5 separate regions of the Homo sapiens genome follow, and all the other regions are linked to region 3. Evidence: promoter capture Hi-C in human tissues and cell types (Jung and others, 2019). All regions are on one chromosome and are shown on one strand. Each heading gives the region's core, a stretch centred on a gene start or on the middle of the fragment in contact. The rest is flanking DNA. Distances are from core to core; before and after follow the strand shown.

Region 1 (2,700 bases), core at 94-2,593, 1.5 Mb before region 3:
AAAACCTGTTTTATAGAGGCAGAGTGGTACAAGAACTTGCCTTTTATTTTTAAATGGAGTTTCACTCTTGTCACCCCTGGCTCAGGTCACTGCAACCTCTGCCTCCCGGGTTCAAGTGATTCTCCTGTCTCAGCCTCCCGAGTAGCTGGGATTACAAGCACCCACCACAACCCCCAGATAATTTTCCTATTTTTAGTAGAGATGGGGTTTCATCAAGTTGGCCAGTCTGGTCTCGAACTCCTAACCTCAGGTGATCTGCCCGCCTCTGCCTCCGAAGTGCTGGGATCCCATGCGTGAACCACCACGCCCGGCCAAGAACTTGCCTTTTAATTTGTTTTCAGTCCTTGGGCTTGAGAGAACTCTGCTGCAATTTTAACAACAACCAGACACACAATATCAAGGTGCCACCTGTGGCTTGTCCGAAGCACTTTGTACTAGGTCGTATTGGTTCTACTTTACAGATGTGGACACTGAGGTTCAATCCAGTAGACCAAGATATTCTCTCTACAATAATACCCTCTTATTTCTATTTATTAGCTGATTTATAAAGTATTCCACCCTATGTCCTTGAATGTACCCTCTGGTAGTAGGGTCACCCAACTCCACCATCCTGAATAGGGTTTATTAGTATGTTGACTTCTAAGGTGTGAATAAAGCAAGAAAAAGGATAAGGAAGAGGAGAACCAGAGTCCGGAAATTCCATGTCGTACCCCAAACTTCTGCCTCCAACCCATCAGCCAAGCAGTCCTGGCCAGATTGAAGTGAACCTCAGCCGGCCTTAGAAAGGAATACAGATTATCATACCACATTCAGTGAATGAGATCTCTCAATCTGGATCTAGGCTCTCTTTCCAAGCAGCTTTGTCTAGGACACAGATGTGTGCCCAAATCTAGCCCTCCCATCTGCTGAACTACACCAAATGTTAGCACACTAGAGATGGAGAAAGATCTTGGCACAGGTTTAGAATTACCACTTCTAATCTGCTGTTCCCTGCAAATGACACCCTTGCTAATTCCGGGAGGGGCATGATCTGTATTTCACAGAGCCCATGTGCTGGTTACCTGGTGACCTGGGCCAGATAGTGCTATCGGAAGTAATAGGAGCTGTGATAGAATTCAGCTAGAGTCCAGGGCTGTCTCGCTCTTGCACTCACAATCACATTGCTTCCTTACATGGAATGCTGAGAGGTTATTATACATGGAATGCTGAGAGGCAATTGAGTGATCTCAACAGCAAACAAGGCATCACCTTGCTATTAGAGGGCCCAATGGACCACACCTGATGGGAGGGTCTCAGGAATAGCTGGGATAATAGAGAAAATAGCACCTTCTAAAGAACTGTGAGAGTTTCTACTTCCTCCTAAACCCAAATCCCAATGCAGTCACCAGCTGGCCCCCATGCTTGAAATGAGGGCACCATTACATGTGCACAGGGGAAGGTGAAGTGAGAGAGACCTTGGCATGGAGGCATGAAGCAGGAAAGAACAGAGACAGACACTACTAGTTCTCAAACTTTGGAGTGCATAAGAACTACCTTGGGAGAATGTTAAAAATGCAGATGTCAGAGAGACAGTTTAGAATTATTGAGTTATAATCCGTGTTTTTAAATCCACCTCCATCAGGAGATTCTGATACATAGTGGGTTTTGAGAGCAGTTCATGTTTGACAAGTCTGTTTGTGATTTTTGCTCCCTTTTGCACAGTCCCTGAATTGGATTTGATCTCATTGGCATGAGGTGGAAGGTGCGGAGAAATTGTGTTCTCCTTCTTCAGGTATAAGCTGTCAGGACTCCTTCATCCTAGGTTAGAGGGAGACTGAACAGTCTTCCCTGGCCTCTTTCTATTTTTTGGTCTGATTTTTTTATTCTTCTTATTTTTTTGAGTTTCGCTCCTGTCACCCAGGCTGGAGTGCGATGGCACAATCTCAACTCATGCAACCCGCACCTCCTGGCTTCAAGTGATTTTCTTTTTCTTTTTTTTTTTTTTATGGAGTCTCACTCTGTCTCCCAGGCTGGAGTGCAGTGGCACAATCTTGGTTCATGCCATTCTCCTGCCTCAGCCTCCAGAGTAGCTGGGACTACAAGCACCCGACACCACGCCCGGCTAATTTTTTTTTGTATTTTTTTAGTAGAGACGGGGTTTCAGCGTGTTAGCCAGGATGGCCTTGATCTCCTGACCTCATGATCTGCCTGTCTTGGCCTCCCAAAGTGCTGGGATTACAGGCGTGAGCCACCGAGCCCAGCCTGACTTGTTTTTTTTTTTTTTATTTGAGTTAGTGAAGGCTGTTCTTGCACAAATCCTAAATTTATGGTGTTATGGTTTGGCCGTGTCCCCACCCAAATCTCACCTTGAATTGTAGCTCCTATAATTCCCACATGTCATGGGAGGGACTCAGTGGGAGGTAATTGAATCATGGGGGCAGGTGTTTCCCATCCTGTTCTCGTGGTGGTGAATAAGTCTCAGGAGATCTGATGGTTTTATAAAGGGGAGCTCTCCTGCACATACACTTGCGTGCTGCCATGGAAGATGTGCCTTTGCTCCTCCCTTGCCTTCTGCCATGACTGTGAGGCCGACCCAACCACGTGGAATTGTGAGTCTATTAAACCTCTTTTTCTTTATGAATTACCCAGTCTTGGATATGTCTTTATTAGCAATGTGAGTTTCAATAAGGAGAAAAAAAAAGGAGATCCTCTAGAGGAAAA
Region 2 (2,700 bases), core at 152-2,651, 1.3 Mb before region 3:
TGAGTTCATGCAAAAGCTGGTTGTTCAAAAGGAGCTGACACCTCATCATCTCTCTCTTATTCTCCCTCTCACCATGTGGTATGCCAGCTACCCCTTTGCCTTCTACTATGATTGGAAGCTTCCTGAAGCCTCACCAGGAGCAGATGCCAGCACCATGCTTCTTGTATAGCCTGCATAACCATGAGCCAAAACAAACCTCTTTCCTTTATAAATTACCCAGCCTCAGGTATTCCTTGATAGCAACACAAAAGAGACTAAAACACTAGCTTACACAGGGCAAGAGGAACCAACCATTATGGCTGAGAAGATTTTTTTCAATGACTTGGGAGAGTTAGAATCAACAGGAAATAAGTTCACAGAAGACGGTAGCAGTGGGATGAGAGAGGCAAAACAAATCAACATCATTGTTTCCTCCCATAACTAGAGTTTAGAAATTTACACCTGAGGCCGGGTGCGGTGGCTCATGCCTGTAATCCCAGCACTTTGGGAGACCGAGGTGGGCAGATCACTTGAGGTCAGGAGTTCGAGACTAGCCTCGCCAACATGGCGAAACTCTGTCTCTACTAAAAATACAAAAAGTAGCCAGGTGTGGTGGCAGGCGCCTATAGTCTCAGCTAATCGGGAGGCTGAGGCAGAAGAATCGCTTGAACCTGGGAGGCAGAGGTTGCAGTGAGCCGAGATTGTGCCACTGCACTCCAGCCTGGGTGACAGAGTGAGACTCTGTCTCAAAAAAAAAAAAAAGAAAGAAAGAAATTTATACCTGAGTATTATTCTCAATGCAGCATAGGGTAGTCTCTTGCAGGATAGCTGGAAGGATCCTCCTTCTGAAAACTCAAAAGAAAAGGGTTTTTCTCACTGGAATGGAATCTATGTGTGGATAATAATAATAGGAACAAAAACATCAACCAACATTTATCAAGCTCTTACTAGATTTCTGACATTCTATTAAGAGTTCTAATGCTTTGTCTTACCTAATCTGCTGTTGAACAACTTAATGAAGTAGCTACTATTATCATCCCTACCTTATGGATGTAGAAAGTACGGTTTACAAAAATGAAGACACAGCCAAGGCCACTGGCCTGCAGGTGGATGATCTGGGATTTGAATATAGGCAGTATGGTTCTGAAGTCCATAATTTTAACAATGATTCTCTACTTCCTTTCCACCACTAGATGAAGATAGTATTGTTTCTTTCTAAGGATGAGATAACTGAGGCTCAGAATATTTAAGTGAGAGTCATTTCACCAGTGGAAGTAGGACCCAACTTGGACCTAAGCTAGTCCTGGAATTTCTAGGAAAGATATGACTTCTGTCTATTTGGGTTGCTAAGCTGGTTGGATATAGATTATGTCCTAGGTATTGGGCCATCTTATATTGTCTGAAAATTCTGCCAGCTCCAAGATAAGCAGGGCTACAAGATGACTTGGAACAAGCAATGCTTGAAGCAGCTCTACACCCATAACCTGATGAATTACTCTTTGACTTAATTCAGTTTGAGCTGGTGGGCTGCCTATCTCCTGTTTGCCTTGTGGATTTATATACTTCCCTACTTCAACTGAATCACTACCCAGGAAGCTGAGCTATGACTTCACTAGCAGTCCCCAAGGCGTTCGGCTTCCAGCAGGATTGGCCAACAGGGAGCACTGGCAGAGCCTGGAGGGAGGGAGGAGAGTGAGGCCATTTATTCCTTGATTCCCATGGCATCACTGAGGGTAAGCTAGATGACCTCAACCAAAGGTCACAGACAGCCCGCTTCTCACTTCTACTCTCATTCCTCTCTCTCTGTCTCTTTCCCTTCTCTCTCTTTGGGATGGATCTAGTAACAGCTCTTTCTCTTGCTACTTCAGACTTGGTGTAGTAATGGTGCCCCATTGTTATGTTCTCTGGGGTGCTGCACTATCCCTGTGCTGGCTTTTTACAGCTATTTCACAGTTTTGTAAGTAGATCCTTTATTAAACTCTATTCATATTAACCAAATTGAGTGTTCCATCTACTTTCTGCTGAGCTCCTGACTGATACAGAGAGTTTTCTGTCATTAAAACCAACAATCCCAATTATTACAGGAAATATAGTTGAAGTACCTCCTTTATTTCAACATTGTGCTAAGCCCTGCACTTACATGATCCCTTAGCTTGTCACACGGACCTTCATAAAGTGGCTTTATTTACCTCTATGGCCCAATTGTCTTTATGCCTGCCACACCAAATTTATATTTTGGCTTCTTCACTTAGGTGGTTCCATCTATCTGCACACTCCCATCTCCACCCTACATTACTTCCTTGATGCATTCCTTGCCCTTTTCTCAGGCACTGATCCAAAGCCACCTCCTTTCTGAAGCCCTCCCAGCTATGCTACTCCCCTTAGCAGGGTATGCCTTCTCATCTCAGTTGCCTCACCTTGGTCATCCTTCAACTAGAGAGCTTAGTGAATTGTAAGACAATACCCTATTCAAGAGTCTTTCTCCACCTAAGAATGGGAGAAACTCAAGGAAAGGCAATGCCTCCAGTCATTCTCTCTGTTCCTAGAGTATAGCAAAGTACCTGGCACATAGCAGCTACTTGGTGGCAAGTACTGAGGGAGGCAGGCAGGAAGGAGGAGAAGAAGAAGGAAGGAAGGAAGAAGGGGAGGGAGGGAGGAAGGAAGGAGGGAGGGAGGGAAGGGAGGAAGGAAACAGAGAGGGAGGGAAGGGAGGAAGGAAGC
Region 3 (2,700 bases), core at 85-2,584:
GAGCAGCCACCATAAGACTTCAAAAGAACCTTAGTCTCCACTATCTTTTATCTTAACCTGAACACTTCCTTTCTATCAATCCCAGGTCTTCAGACAAACTCAACCAATTGTCAACTAGAAAATATTTAAATTTACCTATAGCCTGGAAGCCCCCACCCCCACCCCTTTGCGTTGTCCCGCCTTCCTGGACCAAACCAATGTATTTAATGTATTTGACTGATGTCTCATGCCAACCTAAAACATAAAACCAAGCTGCACCCCGACCACCTTGGGCACATGTTCTCAGGGCCTCGAGAGGGCTGTATCACAGGCTGTGGTTACTCGTATTTGGCTCACAATAAATCTCTTCAAATATTTTGCACGGTTTTACTTTTCGTCAACACTCCCTATTACCTGTAACTTCTCAGTTTCCAAGAGCTGAGAGCTTGATTTGCGAGCTACCCTCCCACTTCTCCAATTCCATGGCCACTGAATGAAGGCTGCACTGCCTGATACTCACACTTGGTCTCATGCGCTGGCTCTGCAACAACGGACAGACAAGAGTTCCTTTGGGGGAAACCAGCTTCCCAGGTGACACTGTTGCCTCTGCTACATGCGCAAAGCGCAGCCTGGCACATAGTAGGTGCTCAAGAGAGGGAAAGCCGGGTCTATGAATTCAGGGACAGGGGCAGCACCAGAAGAGAGCAAGCTGGGGCCTGGCTGGCTGAACCCTGGCCCCGAGACCCCTGTGACCCCCCTTCTCATCAGGATGCACCACATGAACCTCCCCAACGCGAGGGCCAACAAGTGGCCCCAGATGAGACCGCGCCGGGAAGGGCCTGGGGCCACGCACAGATACTTCCGCCAGAAAAACACCACGCCGCGCCGTGCACCTCCGCCAGAGGAAGAAGGTCCCGCAGGGTCGGGGTAACCGCTCCATCCCCGACCGCAACCCTGGACCAGGTACAAGGAACAGATCCCTCCACCGGAACGCCGTGTCCCTCCGCCAGACACAGGAGTCCCCGCTCCCGTGCTCTCCTTCCCCGGCAGCCAGGCCCCGGTGCCGACTCCTCCGCCTCAGGGAGGCCCCGCCGCCGCCTAGATTCTCCGCCTGAAGCGGGACTCGCGACGGCAGGTTCCCTAGAATCCCTCTGTGTCCCTCCGCCCCGGGGAGGACCCTCCGCGCCCCTCTACAATCTTAAAGTCCCTCAGCGACGAGTCACCGCGCCGCGCGCTCTCGCGAGAGTCCACCGCACGGCCCCCCCCCCCTCCCCCAGCCCCTCGCCCGCCAGGACGCCTCGCGCGGGCCCCGCGGCGCTCGGTGGCAGGCGGCGCATGCGTGACTGCGGTTCCCAGCGCCCCCCGCGCTCTCCGCGGGCCGAGTGGACGAGGCCGAACGCGAGCAGCCTGCCGCTGCCCCCTGCGAGCCCTGGCTTCGCCCCGCAGCTCTTCTCCCTTCCGGGCGGAACAGTTTTTGCGGCCTTTCCTCGGCGGCAGCGGTTTCCTCAGGACGGTCGGGGCCGTCGTGGGCCCGAAAGAGCCCGGCGCCGCTCTCGGAATCCGGCGGCCCCAGCGGCACCCGCGGCGGCCTGGACGTGCTGCGGTGACCCGAGCCCGGAACCTGGCGCCGGGCGGGGCCTGCACATCCGGCCCCACCCACTCGGGGACTCGCCTCTCCGCGCCCGACCCGGGAGTAGCGGACACACCCCCTCCCGGCCCGGCTGTCCGCCTCCGCCCAGCCTTTCCTCAGCCTGCTTCATTTTTCTCCCAGTCGTCCAGCCTCCCGGTTTCCGACTTTGCACTAAGAGGGATGCACTCTGGAAAACCACATTGCGCGGTCACATCTTGTTTGGAGAAGAGGCCAGGCTTTTGCATCTTAGAGTATACGTTCACCTTTTCAAGGGCCTGGCATAGATTTGATTAATCAGCCTGGAATACCCTGTTCCTGCCGACCTGGCCGTTTTTACCTCCGTACCTTATCACACTCCCAGGAACATTAAGCAGGGAGCGCTTGGAGTCTTCTTTGGGTCCCCACCTTGAGCTAGACGTGAAGTTGACCCCTGGGCTGCAGCATGGCTGTCGCCCTCGACTCTCAGATCGACGCGCCCCTGGAGGTTGAGGGATGCCTAATAATGAAGGTGGAAAAGGACCCTGAGTGGGCATCAGAGCCCATTCTGGAAGGATCGGATAGCTCTGAGACCTTCCGCAAATGCTTCAGGCAATTCTGTTATGAGGATGTGACTGGACCCCATGAAGCTTTCAGTAAACTCTGGGAACTTTGCTGCCGGTGGCTGAAGCCAGAAATGCGTTCCAAGGAGCAAATACTTGAGCTGCTGGTGATTGAGCAGTTTCTCACCATTTTACCCGAGAAGATTCAGGCTTGGGCACAGAAGCAGTGTCCGCAAAGTGGAGAGGAAGCGGTGGCCCTGGTAGTGCATTTGGAGAAAGAGACTGGAAGACTAAGACAGCAGGTGAGAGAGGATTTTCCAAATTTTTGTACTTAGAAAAAAGGGAATGGGAAAGGCATGTGGGCAGGGATGTATTGCAGAAAGACGTGCTCTTCAGAGAAAGATAAATGGTACTAATAAAAGACCCTATAAGGGGGTCTTTTCACTTTAAGTGAATCCACTTAAAAGGGGATCAGAATTTCACATGAAATAGAAAAATAAAAGCTTTGATTGAAATATTATCTTACAATGGAAACCAGACATTATTCACCTA
Region 4 (2,700 bases), core at 192-2,691, 2.0 Mb before region 3:
CTATGAGACCTGCATGATTCTGATACCATAACCAGACAAAGACATTGCGAGGAAAGAAAACCCCAAACAAGACTCCTCATGAGCGTAGACGTTAACGTGCTAAACCCAACTGTGGCAAATCTAATCTAACAGTGTTTACAAAGGATGGTACGACATAACCAAGTAGGGTTTATCCTGATTTTGCAGGGTTGATTTAGTATTAATATTTGAAAATCAGTGTAATTCACCATATTAAGCTAAAAAAGAAAAATCTTGTGTTTATCTCAATAGGTACAGAAAAAGTATTTGACAAAATCTCATGTTTGCCCTGGTGTGATGTAGCAGAAAGTTTTTTATAGGAAGCTAAGGGATCCTAAGTAGCAGGGGATAAATAGGATAAATAGACTTAGAACACAAGTGAGGAGTCTGAACTCTACAGAGTTTTATATATATATATATATTTATATATATATATATATATATATATATATATTTTAAATAATTAAAATTAAGGCTGGGCGCGGTAGCTCACGCCTGTAATCCCAGCACTTTGGGAGGCTGAGGTGGGCAGATCACCTGAGGTCGGGAGTTCGAGACTAGCCTGACCAACATGGAGAAACCCCGTCTCTACTAAAAATACAAAATTAGCTGGGCACGGTGGTGCATGCCTGTAATCCCAGCTGCTCGGGAGGCCGAGGCAGGAGAATTGCTTGAATCCGGGAGGCAGAGGTTGCAGTGAGCTGGTATCGTGCATTGCACCCCAGCCTGGGCAACAAGAGCAAAACTCCATCTCAAAAAAAAAAAAAAAACAGTTAAAATTAAATAAATTTCATTTATTTTATTATTTTATTTTATTTTTGAGAGAGAGTCTCAAAAAAGCCTCCCAGGCTGGAGTGCAGTGGTGCCATCTCAGCTCGCTACAACCTCCGCCTCCTGGGTTTAAGCAGTTCTCCTGCCTCCGCCTCCCGAGTAGCTGGGATTACAGGCACGTGCCACCACGCCCGACGAATTTTTGTTATTTTTAGTAGAGGTGGGGTTTCACCGTGTTGGCCAGGCTGGTCTTGAACTCCTGGCCTCAAGTGATCTCCCTGGCTTGGCTTCCCAAAGTGCTGGGATTACAGGCATGAGCCACCGCGCCTGGCCCTCTACACAGAGTTTAAAAAAAAAAAAAAATCCAACAGCTATTCCTGATTAAAAAACAAAAACAAAAACAATACCCTCAGCAAAGTGAGAAAAGAAGGGAACTTCCTTAACCTGATAAAGGGGATCTCTGTAAAACCTACAGCTAACATCACTCTTAATGGTGAAAGACTGAATACTTTTCCCTAATCTCAGGAGAAAGACAAGAATGTCTGTTCTCACCACTTTTGTTCTAGCTAGTGTACTGAGGCGAGAAAAAGAAACAAAAGGTAGCTGGATTAGAAAGGACGACACAGTAAAACTGTCAGTTCACAGACAACATGATCATCTGTGTAGAAAATCTGATGGAATCTACAAAAAATCTTCTGGAACTAATAAGTGAGTTTAGTAAAGTTGTAGGATACAAAATCAATATCCAAATACCAATTGTTTCTCTATATGCTGGCAATGGATAATCAGAAATGGTAATGTAAAAATAGCACCATTTATAATAACATTAAAAATAAGAAATGCTTAGGAATAGATCTGGCAAAAATGTGTTAGACCCGTACACTGAAAACTACAAAACATTGTTGAGAGAAGTCAAAGGAGATTTAAATAAGTGGAAAGACATAGCATGTTCATGGGCTGGGAAATTCAGTATTGTTAAGGTATCAATTCTCCCCAAATTGATCTATAGATTCAAAGAAATCCCAGTTAGATCCCAGCAAGGCTTTTTATAAAAATTAACAAGCTGATTCTGAAATTCACATGGAAATGTAAAGGACCTAGAAGAGCCAAAACTATTTTGAAAAAGACAAACTTGAGGAACCCTGCCTGATTTCAAGACTTACTGTATGGCTGTCCTATCAAGACAGTGTGGTAGTCATGTCATGATGGACAAACAGATGAAGGGAAAAAAATAAGAGAGCTAGATAACAGACCCACACATAGGTGGACAGCTGATTTTTGACAGAAGTGCAAAGGTAATTTAGTGGAAATAGTCTTTTCCAAAATGAGTGCTGGAATAATTGGATATCCATAATCAAAAAATGAACTGCAAGCCATACTTTGCACCAAATACAAAAATTATCTCAAAATGAGTCATAGACCTAAATGTAAAACCTGAAACTATAAAACTTCCAGAAGAAAACATAGGAGAAAACCTCTGTGACCTATGATTAGTCCAAGATTTCTTGGCTCCAAAAGCATGCTCCATAAGAGAATGAATCGATAAATTGAACTTCACAATTAAAAATTTACATTAAAAAATACTCTTTAGAGACTGAAAAGACAAGCAAAATACTAAGAGAAAATATTTGCAAATAATGTATTTAATGAATGACTTGTATTCAGAATATATAGAGAATTCTCAAAGCTCAAAAATAAGAAAACATTCAACCCGGCTGGGCGTGGTGGCTCACACCTGTAATCCCAGCACTCTGGGAGGCTGAAGCCGGTGGATTGCTTGAGCTCAGGAGTTTGAGGCCAGCCTGGGCAACATGACAAAACTCCGTCTCTACAAAAAAATACAAAAATTAGTCAGGCATGGTGGCATGCACCTGTAGTTTCAGCTACTTGGGAGGCTGATGTGGGAGGGTT
Region 5 (2,700 bases), core at 119-2,618, 1.3 Mb before region 3:
AAGTTAAAAAAATAAATAAAGTCTCCCTTCCCTGTTGTTTCTCAATGACCTGAGGGTAAAGTTCGAGCCACTTGGTAAAGTGTAAAAGACCCGTCTTATCTGACTGCTGTCTTATCTGACTGCTGTCTTATCTGGGCTGCTGCTTGACTGTCTAGTTTCATCTGTTGACGATAAGTTCTACGTCCAGCTGGATGGAACTGGGAGCTGGACATTTGATGTGTTATGCTTGTTCTGCTTAGGGTGAGCCTGAGCTGGGAAACCCTTCCCCCTCGCTCCCTGCACCTTACTCACCTCAGCTTGTCTTCACCCACTAACTTCTCCCACCTCTTCTTCCACATCAGGAGCCTGTCCCTCCCCTTTTCCCAGATCCTTATGGCTTTCTCAGTCACTGCATGGATCCTGCCTATGTTAGAATTGCTTGTTTTCTTCTCTGTGGCCCTCACTTAACTAATCTCTGTGAGGGCAGTGAGCATGTCCATCTTGGTCCCTGCTGTATTCTCAACGCGCAGTAATGCTTTGCAAAGAAAAGATGCTCAGAAAGTATTTGCTGAACATATAAATGGGAGCTGGTTTCAGTGGCTCATGCCTTTAATCCCAACAGTTTGGGAAGCTGAGGCAGGAGGATCATTTGAGGTCAGGAGTTTGAGACTAGCCTGGGCAACATAGTGAGACCCTGTCCGTACAAAAACCTTAAGAAGAAGATTAGCTGGGCATGATGGTATGCACTTGTAGTCCCAGTTACTCGAGAAGATGAGGCAGGAGGATCACTTGAGCCCAGGAGTTTGAGGCTGCAGTGCGCAATGATCCTACTGCACCACTACACCCTAGCCTGTGTGACAGAGCCAGACCCTGTCTCTAAAAGAGAAGCAGCAACAATAAAAACATAAAAATAAAAATTACTCTTGCTCTGGACCCCATCCAGTGATTTCCAGGCTCCTTCAACCTTTTTCAACAGTTCCTGACTTTTATCAGCTTGACCATTACTTGTGATTCCTTTGTCTGTCTGCAGACCTTTCCAGTAACCTCCAGGTTCCCTGAAGGTCCCACAATTTGCTTTTCCTTCCCTAGTCAGGACCGTCCAGACATACTCCATGCTTTCTTCCTTGTGGGGATGACATGATCCCCAGCTCCATGAGAGCAGAGATCTTCTGCGTCTTGCCCATTGTGGTGTTCTAGTGCTTGGCACTTAGTAGGTGCTCAGTAAACATTTGTTGAATGAATTTTTAAAAATCAGTCGTGCAATCCATGGACAACAGAAGCTTGAGCTCATCTCTGCCAGTGGATATGAACAGATGTGTCCTTACCCCCTTTGGGCTACTCATGGAACTGCTTTTGGGTTAAAATGTTGCCAGGGCATAACTGCTTCTCTTGCAATCTCTTCTGATGGATTTAGGTTCTAGCTCTGATTCTCTGGACCTGGGAGAGGGGTCCTTATGTCTCATCCGCTATGTCTTTCCTCATTCTCCTTTCAGCAGCTACAAGATAGGCCATTCAAGAAGCCACCACTCCCTGCAAGAGGAGAGATTTCAGCTCTTAGGAGAATTTATTGCAGAGATTAGATGCTGCCAAACCCTTCAATATCAGCTCCCATCTAAACACAGGCTCAGAGATAGGAATGAATTCAAGTTGTCTGTTTAGAAGACTTTTGCAGGCTTCAGGAAGCCACTGCCTGTCATGGAAGATTGATTCACAGGAATATGGCAAGGAAGCCCGGGCATTCAGTGACAAGGCACATCTTTGCCAAGTGTCTTGGCACATCTTTGCCAAGTGTCTCAAATAGCCTGGGAACAAAATTCACCAAGGGGAAGATGGTGCTGTCCCCTTGGTTTACATGTTGGAGGTGTGAGTCTTTGCAACTTCCTGACAACAAGGCTTCCTAGTTCCCATTTAAAATCAAGTCAGTTTTATAAAGCATTAACATGATGAGATGCATTAAGCTAAAGAGTGCCTTTTAAGAATAATAGCAAATAATTTATAATGGATGCATCAGCTTTAGTAAAAAGTTTTTTTTTGGTGACAAAATAAAATCATACATAAAAGGCAAGTAAGACAGTTTCACTTTAATAGGGTGCCCAAGTGGAGTAAAAAAAAATGTCAAAGCCAAAGTGTTTGTAGGAGTGAAAGATTCTCAAGAGAAAGTAAGATGAGACATCAAACGAATTGGCTTTGGTAGAAGACAGGTCTAGGCTGCAAAAACAACCTGGATAGCTTGCTTGCTTGCTTTCTTGCTTTCTTGCTTGCTTGCTTTCTTGCTTGCTTTCTTTCTTGCTTTCTTTCTTGCTTGCTTGCTTGCTTGCTTGCTTTCCTTCTTTCTTTCTTTCTTTCTTTCTTTCTTTCTTTCTTTCTTTCTTTCTTTCTTTCTTTCTTTCTTTCTTTCTTTCTTTCTTTTTTTTCTTTGAGATGGAGTTTGCTCTTGTTGCTCAGGCTGGAGAGTGCAATTGTGCAGTCTCAGCTCACTGCAACCTCTCCGCTTCCCAGGTTCAAGCAATTCTCCTGCCTCAGGCTCCCGAGTACCTGGGATTACAGGGGTGTGCCACTGTACCCAGCTGATTTTTGTGTTTTTAGTAGAGATGAGGTTTCACCATGTTGGCCAGGCTGGTCTTGAACTCCTGACCTCAGGGCATCCACCCACCTGGGCCTCCCAAAGTGCCGGATTATAGGCGTGAGCCACTGCACCTGGCCCACAATGTGGACAGCTTC

What was found. The method cuts DNA at HindIII sites, captures the fragments that hold promoters and counts their contacts. A contact is called where the count stands out against the background at its distance.
Region 1: a contact is called between a fragment that was not itself captured here and the fragment with the promoter of ZKSCAN2 in region 3, in 1 of the 25 tissues and cell types used here (dorsolateral prefrontal cortex).
Region 2: a fragment that was not itself captured here is called in contact with the fragment with the promoter of ZKSCAN2 in region 3 in 1 of the 25 tissues and cell types used here (mesenchymal stem cells).
Region 4: a contact is called between a fragment that was not itself captured here and the fragment with the promoter of ZKSCAN2 in region 3, in 1 of the 25 tissues and cell types used here (mesenchymal stem cells).
Region 5: a fragment that was not itself captured here is called in contact with the fragment with the promoter of ZKSCAN2 in region 3 in 1 of the 25 tissues and cell types used here (lymphoblastoid cells).

What each region holds. Positions count from the first base shown.
Region 1 is chr16:26,759,094-26,761,793 of GRCh38, reverse strand. No RefSeq gene overlaps it. Among named protein-coding and RNA genes, the nearest start is that of LINC02195, 160 kb to the right of the region's middle. The HindIII fragment of the contact is 8,690 bases long and covers 1-2,700 here.
Region 2 is chr16:26,579,126-26,581,825 of GRCh38, reverse strand. No RefSeq gene overlaps it. Among named protein-coding and RNA genes, the nearest start is that of LINC02195, 15 kb to the left of the region's middle. The HindIII fragment of the contact is 3,567 bases long and covers 1-2,700 here.
Region 3 is chr16:25,256,479-25,259,178 of GRCh38, reverse strand. It overlaps ZKSCAN2 (zinc finger with KRAB and SCAN domains 2), which reads left to right and starts at 1,334. Exons shown (of 7, transcript NM_001012981.5): 1 at 1,334-2,450. The coding sequence starts at 2,052. It overlaps ZKSCAN2-DT (ZKSCAN2 divergent transcript), which reads right to left and starts at 1,602. Exons shown (of 1, transcript NR_170220.1): 1 at 1-1,602. RefSeq lists enhancers at 473-552, 673-992, 1,408-1,968 and silencers at 1,203-1,402, 1,483-1,722. The HindIII fragment of the contact is 3,469 bases long and covers 1-2,443 here.
Region 4 is chr16:27,248,932-27,251,631 of GRCh38, reverse strand. The region is part of intron 2 of NSMCE1 (NSE1 component of SMC5/6 complex); the gene reads left to right. Among named protein-coding and RNA genes, the nearest start is that of NSMCE1-DT, 18 kb to the left of the region's middle. The HindIII fragment of the contact is 7,888 bases long and covers 1-2,700 here.
Region 5 is chr16:26,600,571-26,603,270 of GRCh38, reverse strand. No RefSeq gene overlaps it. Among named protein-coding and RNA genes, the nearest start is that of LINC02195, 6.5 kb to the right of the region's middle. The HindIII fragment of the contact is 4,145 bases long and covers 1-2,700 here.